Regions from separate parts of the Homo sapiens genome. Here all the other regions are linked to region 3. Evidence: promoter capture Hi-C in 16 types of primary human blood cells and fetal thymus (Javierre and others, 2016). All regions are on one chromosome and are shown on one strand. The core of a region is centred on a gene start or on the middle of the fragment in contact, and the rest is flanking DNA. Distances in the headings are between cores, read along the strand shown. Region 1 overlaps GABRR3 (gamma-aminobutyric acid type A receptor subunit rho3). Region 2 overlaps RIOX2 (ribosomal oxygenase 2). Region 3 holds the start of ARL6 (ARF like GTPase 6).

The links. Contacts are between HindIII fragments. The CHiCAGO score rates a contact against its expected background, and 5 or more counts as called.
Region 1: a contact is called between a fragment that was not itself captured here and the fragment with the promoter of ARL6 in region 3, in 15 of 17 cell types (total B cells, activated CD4 T cells, non-activated CD4 T cells and 12 more). The highest score is 13.8, in total B cells.
Region 2: a fragment that was not itself captured here is called in contact with the fragment with the promoter of ARL6 in region 3 in 1 of 17 cell types (non-activated CD4 T cells); the score reaches 5.4 in non-activated CD4 T cells.

Annotation. Positions count from the first base shown.
Region 1 is chr3:98,015,111-98,018,473 of GRCh38, reverse strand. It overlaps GABRR3 (gamma-aminobutyric acid type A receptor subunit rho3), which reads left to right. Exons shown (of 10, transcript NM_001105580.3): 4 at 752-819. Among named protein-coding and RNA genes, the nearest start is that of GABRR3, 19 kb to the left of the region's middle. The HindIII fragment of the contact is 572 bases long and covers 1,465-2,036 here.
Region 2 is chr3:97,945,640-97,948,908 of GRCh38, reverse strand. RIOX2 (ribosomal oxygenase 2) reads left to right here. Exons shown (of 10, transcript NM_153182.4): 8 at 1,460-1,548; 9 at 3,022-3,111. Among named protein-coding and RNA genes, the nearest start is that of RIOX2, 25 kb to the left of the region's middle. The HindIII fragment of the contact is 931 bases long and covers 1,108-2,038 here.
Region 3 is chr3:97,763,386-97,766,641 of GRCh38, reverse strand. ARL6 (ARF like GTPase 6) reads right to left here and starts at 1,884. Exons shown (of 8, transcript NM_001278293.3): 1 at 1,665-1,884. RefSeq lists enhancers at 1,727-1,836, 1,552-2,051, 1,877-2,416, 2,052-2,553. The HindIII fragment of the contact is 6,880 bases long and covers 1-3,256 here.

The DNA.
Region 1 (3,363 bases), core at 501-3,000, 250 kb before region 3:
CTGATTCTGGGTGACTCAACTGTACAAGTGTCAGCAGTGCTCTGTCTGAAATTGCTCCAATTCTACTCTCAGTATTTTCTCATTAAATGGATTTCTAAGGATATTTGCTTCTTCACAAATGCAGCCTGTGGTTGCTGCTGATCTGCAAAGGGACACTTCGGAATCTGATCTGTGTTGTCCCTGTGTGGCACTGTACTTTTAGTCTCAATAAAATTTTCTCTGTGTTCCTCTACTCCACCAACCACAGCACAAATGGAAAAGGCTGATATTTTTGACACCAGAGAAAAGGTCCCAACATTGCCCACGTCAAGGATTCTATGACACTCCCTGACTATGAGATATGACCATTACCATATTTGTACTTAAGAGTACATAATTCTACATACTCTTAAGACATGTTTTCAAAACACTTTTCCTTTTTAAATCACTAGTAGGTAAAAAGAATAAAAAACTAAAAAAAAAAAAAAAAGAAAACTGGAGGCACCACTCTTATACTAGAGGAGGAAATTATTGGCATGATCCCAAGCAAATGAGTAATGATTATTAGAATACCATTTATTTACACATGTGCCTTTATTATAATAATTGAGTATATAATAACTGATTCAATGAATAATGGAGAAATTTGTTGTTTAAAAAAACTTTAACAGTAATTCAGTTGCTGTCCAAGAGAATTAATCTCTCTGTTTTAAATGGTTTTAAAATGATTATAATGCATTCCTCAGCATATTAACCATTCTTCTTTCTTAAGGGTCTCCAGTGCCAGTAGGTATAGATGTCCATGTTGAAAGCATTGACAGCATTTCAGAGACTAACATGGTAAGTTTCTTCATGGGATATTGCTCTTTTTCTGAAAAGACAGAAACTCGGCAGTGTCAAAATCACTAGTGTTTTAATAAATCATTTTAATTATGTATGTTATTTATGTCTCCTACTTTGATTAATCATAGGGTCATGATTGCTGTGCTCTCTTCCATCCTCTTCATTCTAACCTTGATTAGAATTCTCATTCCTTTTCTACTCTTCTATTTTCCTTCTAATGGATTTCTAGTGGTGGAACACTGTAGAACATCATGATATATTTACCAATGTAGCAAGAACTGGGAACAATTGTATAAACAGAAGGATGACCATACTATATGTGCGATATGAAATCCGAATCATGAGTCCTTGCCTGTAAAATAATAAACAGTTGAACCAGCATTGATGGACTGCTTTCAAATATATCAAATGATATTAATTTTGCTTATCTGTAGACAACCAGTAGCAGAGGACAAAGAATTTTTTTAAGTTCATGGGACTAAAAATTTAATTAAAAATTTGTCTACTCCCTTATATTTTTCTAGAAATCTAAAAAAGACTGCCATTATTTAATTTTGCAATGAAACATCTGTATTTTCCTAGAGTATTATTCACTCTATGAAATATCCATAAAACTTGAAACTGATCCCTTATCTTCAAGCTTCCTGTTAGCCTTTTTCTGTCTTCTATGACATTTTGCATGCCTTGCTTTTCTGTTTCTTCTTCCCGTCCCTTAATCACTTTGGCTATTTTTATGTTTTAATATTATCAACCGTAATTTTCCATTTTATTTTCTCTATTCCCAATTTAGGACCACTTTCCTTGTTTACATAATTACCAGAGACATTTTTCATTTAAGTGATTTTAGGTTTTTCAGTTTTTTTGCTCTAAGAATAGTTAATAACATTGCTAGCTTATACATACAAGCACCTACATATTTGTTTTCAGATATATTTCCTTTTTACTCACTCTTGATCTATTAATTTGTTAATGTAGTTTCAGAGTTTGGTTGAGCCCCCTTCAGTTTGTTTTTCTATCCCAAATAAAGGGTGCCTTTACAGCTTCAAATTTTCAGCACCTGTTTCCTTGTTGTCTTAGTCTGTTTGTGTTACAGTAAAGGAATACCTGAGGCTGGGCAGTTTATAAAGAAAAGAGGTTTGCTTGGCCCATGGTTCTGCAGGCCATACAAGGAGCATGACACCGCCATCTGCTCCTGGTGAGGGCCTCAGGAAGCTTCTACTCATGGTGGAAGGTGAACGGGAGCAGGCATCACATGGCAAGAGAAGGAGGAATGGGGGGTGGGGGAGGTACTAGGTTCTTTCAACAACCAGCTCCAGGTGGCAGGGGTGAAGAAGGGAGAAGACTGTCATGGGAAATAATTGAGAACTCATTCATTACTAAGAAGATGGCTCCAAGCTATTCCTGAAGGATCTGCCGTCAAGACCTAAATACCTCCTGATATGGTTTGGCTCTGTGTTCCCCACCCAAATCTCATCTTGACATGTTGAGGGAGGGACCTTGTGGGAGGTGATTTGATCATGGGGGCAGTTTCCCCCATGCTGTTCTTGTGATAGTGAAAGAGTTCTCATGAGACCTGATTATTTGAAAGTGGCAGTTTCCCCTGCACATGCTCTCTCTCCTGCTGCCCTGTGAAGAAGGTGCTTTCTTCCCCTTTGCCTTCTGCCGTGGTTGTAAGTTTCGTGAGGCCTCCCCAGCCATGCAGAACTGTGAGTCAATTAAACCTCTTTTCTTTATAAATTACACAGTCTCAGGTAGTTCTCTATAGCAGTGTGAAAATGGACTAATACACCTCCCTTCAAGCCCCACCTCCAACACTGGGTATCAAATTCCAACACAACATTTGGAGGGAACAAACATCCAAACTCTATCACGTGTTCTTACCCAATGGCTATGTGTCTTTATATTTAAATTGCTTTTTCCATCTCATTTCTTTGTCCTCAATTGCTATCTTTTCCGTCATCCTCTTTAGATGGATCTCTTTCCTTTTCTTTCAATACTACACCACTTTCAGGAGTTAATGATAAAGGCCCTAACTGGTACCTACTAGTAAGATGCAGCTTATGAATATGTTTTGGTTTGGTTTCAATTTTGTATTTGGTTTGAATTTTAGTTTTTTATCTCCATTCTACCCAAAGTAGTAAACAATTTAATGTTTGGGCCAAGAGCAGTGGCTCATGCCTATAATCCCAGCACTTCGGGAGGCCAAGGTGGCCAGATCATTTGAGGTCAGGAGTTCGAGACCAGCCTGGCCAACATGAGGAAACCCTGTTTCTACTGAAAATACAAAAAAAATTAGCTGGGTGTGGTGGCACATCCCTGTAGTCCCAGCTACTCAGTAGGTTGAGGCAGGAAAATAACTTGAACCTGGGAGGTGGAGGTTATACTGAACCAAGATCACACCACTGCAATTAATCCTGGGTGGCAGAGTGAGACTCTTTTTAATAAAACCAAGGAGTAGCTCTTCCATGATTGGGAAAAGTTAAGTTATTTTCTTTTCAAACTCCATTTTCCATCTGAAAAGATTTAGTTTGTTGTTTATCC
Region 2 (3,269 bases), core at 324-2,823, 180 kb before region 3:
GTCAGTATCCTATAGCAAAGACCACCAAGAACATACTCCTGAATTCAGACGAAATTGGATTTATTGACTTGTTGCAGTGGGAAGACCACACACCATTGAGAACTGCAGGGCATCTCAGTAAAACGGTGTTAGAAAAGACTTATAGGACTCAGGTGTATGTTAGGTGATTTTGGAGAGGGTTCAAGGAAGCAGGGCTTTGCTCTGGATTGGATGCTGTCAGGAAATGGAAGGGATTCTATGATTAAGTCTCCTAAATGTTATCTGGTAGGCAGGAGGAATGTATGAGGCTGAAGTTATCAATGGTAAAGCGGAAGTGGTCACTCATTAGCCAGAGTAGGGGGATGTTCGGTCAGTGTTGTGGTTTGGAATATGTTCTTGCCTTGCCTGAGTCCAGACATGAGTATGTACGGAGTGGTGGTGTTTTGTTTTGACCTATCATGGTGACAGTGATCTCTGATGTTAGCATTCTGTGGAATTGCCTGTGTTCAACAGGAGAACACAAAGACCTAGCTGTGAGTGCCAGGCCAGCTTTTTGGCTGCTGTTCTTTCTCAGGGTTGAGTGAAAAGAGTATTTTTTACTAACTTTAATAAAACTCTTAATTATGACCAAGAGAGAACCACTGAGATAGATAATCTATAAGGTCCCTTCCAACACTGATTCTATATACATTTTTATCATAGTCTTTGGAGGAAGCTTAGAATTTGTTTTTGATTGTATCTATTCAAAATAGCAAATGTTTTACAAGCACATGGTTTAATCTTTAGCAGAACAGTTTGCTTATGCACCAGCTTATGGCCCAGACTACTTCAGTGTTTTCCTTATCTTAGGCATTATACTCAATAAAGTGATGATCCCTCACGACTCCTTCCCCACGCAGATGACCCTGTAAGGCTAGTCTGTTTTTATTGGGTATTGTTCCACTAAGTTAAATCCAATTTGGAAAAAAAAAATTTTCTGTGGACTTTATTAGATGGCTTTTATAGGATACTATTCTTGACTTACATAGACTGAATAATTGACCAGGGTCACACACCTAATAATTGGTGGAGTAGTGCAATTTTGAACTCAGGTAGTACTTCCAGAGTCCATATGTTGAGCGAGAAGCTTGTAGAGGACAGAACCTGGAGGAGTGAGTGTTCTGTGCAGAAAGCACCACAGCCTTATGTGCTATGATAGCCACTGTACTTCGATGGTATTATTTTTGTCTATTTATTGTACTTATAAACTTACATTATTTATCTATGTCTGTCTTCACTGTAAGAATGAGCTGCATAATGATGTGAACTATAATATCAGTACAATGTTGGGGTAAGCAAATTCTTCAGTTGGAGTGTATGCCATGTTTGGATTCACCTGTAAATTGTTAGTAAATGTGTTTCCTATGTGTATGTATAAGCAAGTTTGAATCTGCCTGTTTCCTTTTTTGAAGGTCGGCTTTCTCTCTTTGGGGTTTTCTAGGTGGAAAGTTACCGAGGCTGGACAGTGTAGTGAGACTGCAGTTTAAAGACCACATTGTCCTCACAGTACTGCCGGATCAAGATCAATCTGTGAGTATCCAAGAGGAGGAGATTTCCTGTCTTCTCAGGGTGTTTTTCATCAGAGGCCTCAGGTTATTAGATTAACCACTGGTCTCTGCCCTTCTTTAGGAATCCACCTGCATTCAGTTTAATGCCATTTCTTCAGGTCAGATGATGACCAAATCTCACAGTTCCAATTCCATATTTTCTTGCCCTCATCCTCACAGAACCTTCCTTCATCCCCTTTATGTGGTGATTAATGTCTGGTCTTTGCTTCTCATCCTACTTCGGGCCTTACTGTTCTTGCTTGGACAGCCACAGACCTCATTCCTGAGTTTCTCAGCCCCAGTCCTCCACACTGTGCAGATCTATATTTCTATGTGGTTTTGTGGATATTGTTGCATCTCCTTAAACTCTATCCTGTAGATTATGGAGAACAAAGTATATATTCTGTAATTTTGCTTCCTAGCCCAGTGATTCCCCAAACTGGCTAACTGATCATGGAGTCAATTGGAAAGCTTTTTAAAATTATAAATTCCTGGGTTTCATCTGGTCTTGGAGCCTTTGGATTTATGTTTTGATAGAGCTCCCTGTACAGTCCTAAAGACCTTGGAACGATCTCATACCATATGGCTCCACCTCATTCCTCCTAATCAGCTCTCTAAGGAGCTATCCCATGAATGATCAAGGGGGATGAGAGGGGCACTCAACATGTCTCGATAACCAGATTGTTCCAGCCGTCAGGGCCAGAGTTGGAATATATATATGAATATACATGAATAGATATATATATATATATATATACATCCTCAAAAGTACACATTCCTACATCCCTGTCTAAAAAAAAAATAGTGATTCTGATAACCAGTCAGTTTGAGACATTGTACGCTAGGCTAAGATTTTTTTGCCCTTATCTAAGAGGTGACAAAGAATGACTAAAGGCTCTGGAAGAGACAATAAACTGCACTGTGTAACATGGGGAGTGAAGGGAGATAGGGACCATTTGGGAGGGTAGTGTAATTGAAATGGAGTTTTTTATCGATCACACAGCTGGTATTTCTCAGGAGTTAATGACTTCATGATTATAAATTGTCAGTTTATACCTAGAAATGTCAGATTTTTTTATTCAAAAAAGATAGTGCAGGTATGATTAAAAAAACTGAGGATTTCATTGATAAGTTGATACATAAATCACTGCTTTTTCATTAAATCCTGAAGATGCTCTTCCAGGTAGCACTCCAGCTGTTTTAACAACTTAGAATGCCCATTAATTGCCACATACAAATAGTAACCTGTGGTGACTAATGAAGTATAGACATTGTGTGGATGCACACACCCGTCACTTTTTGCCAAAAGGATTCTTTACAGTATTCAATAAATTTCACTTGAGCACCAAGGCTTTTGAAATTTTTTTTGGTGTTGACCTATTGGAAAACCTTCCTAGTACTGACACCTTCAGTGTTGTGTTGTTGATGGCCTAATGCATTTATTTTTTCCCCAAAGGATGAAGCTCAAGAAAAGATGGTGTACATCTATCATTCCTTAAAGAATAGTAGAGAGACACACATGATGGGAAATGAGGAGGAAACAGAGGTTTGTTTCAACTGAAAACAAATGCCTATCCTGTGACTTGGGTGGTGGTTGGGAAGAATTGATTATTTTTGATTTACAGGTAATATGCTTTTTATGGCTGCACTGTGGACTTAACCATTTTGCACTACTCACAGAGCTCCTGCATGGGGATGATTAAG
Region 3 (3,256 bases), core at 635-3,134:
ACAACTGTATCTAAAAGGAGGTTGCATAGTCAACATTTTGCTTAGGCCTTTTGGGATATGATTATGGGTAGAAATTTCAAAACTAAATTTCAGTGATGTGCAGAGAAGAGATGGAACAGTGCCATGCCAAAAGGTGAGGCCTATTACAGAACCACGTTTGTCTTTCCCCAAGGATGAGTTTGACCTCAGGTACTTCCATTTGTGCCACTTCAATCTGCTTTTCTCCTTGTATCAGAGATTCAAATCTTATTCAGTCCATTTCTTTAAATTACAGCTTAAGGACCAGCATTTGTAAAATCTATTTTAAATTAACCTTCTGATGTCATGAAGCAATTCACACATACCATTTGATTTCAAAGTAAATTTGCTATTACTCACTTTATTTACTGCATAAACATATTGATATAAATGCTTATATCTTGTTCTCCATTTCATAATTTAGAACTTATGTTTTAAAAACGACAACTTCTCACATTTTCCCCCCTTTAAGCATCTACTATAAAGCACTGAGTGTTTAAAGCCTGATGCTTGAATATTCGTTTTTCACAGTACCTTGTATTGTGACTTTCCATCACTTTTCCATGGATTATCACTTGATACTTGTTAATGAAATATTTTGGGACACACAATTTAGAAGAGCAGGCAGTTTTTCTAAAAGAGGTAATCACATTTATTGAAATTGCTTTATAAACAACTATCATAGAGCCTTTAAACTTCTACGTTTCAAGTAGTTATAATTTTCCTTCCATAAGTTGACTTTCTGCATGCATAAATAAAAGATAATTGAAGCCAGTCAATATTTGTTAATCGTGTCTTAAGTGTGCAGCGAGAGACACAACTGTTTTCTGCAGCTTCCTACTCTGATAGCCATGATTCTCAACCCTGGCTGCACTCTGAAATCAATTGCTGAATCCGAATTTTTGAAAATAAGATCAGGGCATCTGTAGTTTTAAAAGCTACCCAGTGTTTCTGATGTGAAGTTACTATTGAGAACTACTGGCTTTCAGAATAAAGCCAGTAGTTTCAAACTTCCAAGCACAGCTTTTAAGGTTGTCCACAATCTGGCTCCAATCTTCCTTTCTTGTTTCTTATCTTACTGTAACCCTCTCTTTGCACACCAGCCAAATTCTCTTGGTTATTGTCTGACAGACTGTTTCCTAAAGGATTACATATTGCCAGAGAAGTCCAGAAGAATTAGGATGTTATCCACAGTTAACAGCTTAGAGGGTAAGCTGCAGAGACAGAGTGGTAGCCCAGAGAAAACACCACGAATGATACTTAGTAAACTCTGTAAAGTGTTTGTTGATTGAAATGTTGCCTACTTTTATTACCCCAAATAAACATTCTTATTCGGCTTTCAGTTTTTTATGATATAATTTAAATTACACTTACACACACACACACACACACACACACACACACACACACACCCCCAATACACGGGTCTAAGTTGAGCATTGTTAAAACCCATCAACCAAACATACGTCCAAACCAGTTTAGTAAGTTTTCTAGGGCCTCTATAACTCACCTTCTTTTCTACTTCTCATACATTAGCAACAACTACACGCGTGGAGTGAAAAACATGGGAAAGACCAAAGAGGAATTCTAAAACTGACGGGGACAGAGGGTGGCGCTGGCTTTAAAAACCGGCGTTGAGGAGATACCTGGTTTTTGAGGTTAGTCCGGAGGGCGCAGGAGCTGGCAACAGGAATGGACGCACTCGTATCGGTCTCCGGGATGGAAATCTGGTGCGAGGGTCCCTCAGCCTTCTTCTCGATGCCTACATGGGAAGGATGCCTGGTAATGAGCAAAGCCGTCTCTAGAAGTTGGGAAAACCGGCAGCCTCTGCAGCAGTCTGTGCATCAGTCGCTGAGCAGGCGCCTTGGCAGGCACCGTTCCCTTGGCAACAGGAGCTTCTTCCGGTCCTGAAGCCACGCCTCCCCGGGGGTCCTGGCGATTCAGCCGTTGTGCTATAGCTTCTGGGATTGAAGAGCTCCGGGAAAAGGTCAGAGGCGCGCCGAGGAACTATACATTGAAGAAAAATGTGTGCACAGGTGGCAGGGTGAGCTGCCTATTTCCTGCGAGGAGCCGGGCAGTTCCCGGCGTAGCATCATGGGAGTTGTAGGCTCGCGCACAGCTTTCTGGGAAGCGTTTGGCGTTCGCGTGTGCTGCGTGTTTGTCGCTCGGCCCTGGTCTTCCTGGGGATCCAAGAGGCTGGCGCTGGGTGTGGCGCGGAGAGTGTCGTTACCGGGCACCAGCGTAGCGTTGTGGCAACGACTGCAAGACGATACTGTCCCCCCTGGGGCAAGATGTGCGCCGGAGTTCCCCAGTTGCCCATCGCACCGACTCTTCTCTGGGTTCTGATAGGCCTCCCACCCTGAGTCCCTGTAGAGGTAAAACTGTTAATACAGGAAGGTAGAGGGGAGAACTGGTGTAAAAAGTCAAAAGGTGTTATTCGGCTAATAAAGTATGCCTGTACCCCTGCTTCTTAGTTGTGTGGTCTCCCGAAGAGATTTCTACCAGGCATAATCTCCTGTGAGTAGATTACAGTCTCCAGAATCAAATCGGCAGGTGGTCAGGAAAGGTATTAATAGTCAATACTTAAAGTTGACCACCTTCTTAAATTGCACTTGGATTTTATAGTCATAGTCACAAATGGTCTTCAAATAGAAAATATTTAGGCATACCCTTCCCCACATCTTTTATTACTGCGTTTTCCAACGGACACATTACAGATGCAGTCATTTTAAAGATCTAGCCTTTCAATCTGCCCAACTCCACTAACCTCACCCCCAGCGAATGGCCTCATTCTTCAAATAGGGGTTTGTATCTCTTCATTTTTTTTGTTTGCATGGGTGTAGGATTTCCGACCCCCTGCCCCCCACCGCGCGACCCTTTTCAACTAGCTAGTGTATGTTTACTGCACTGCCTGTTCTTTGGCCTGTCAATTCATTTGGCCTATTAAATGGACTAGGAGGGTGCAAAAAGAGACTAGAAGGAATTATTTCAAAGTAATATGGTAGGGGGGACGGTTGTAAGCGTGTGATTATGGGGTGATTTATCTTTTGTCACTTCTCCAAATTTCCAAATGTAATTGTCATTTTTACAGCGAAAAAACAAAAGCGGCTCTGGATTAGTGATTCTTGTTGAAAGACAAAAACAAAACAAAGACCCTATGGATGCATATCAACATATAAATGTCCTTGTAAAAATGGAGTATGGAAATACATTCTTTCTTACTGTGTGGTCTTAGCCC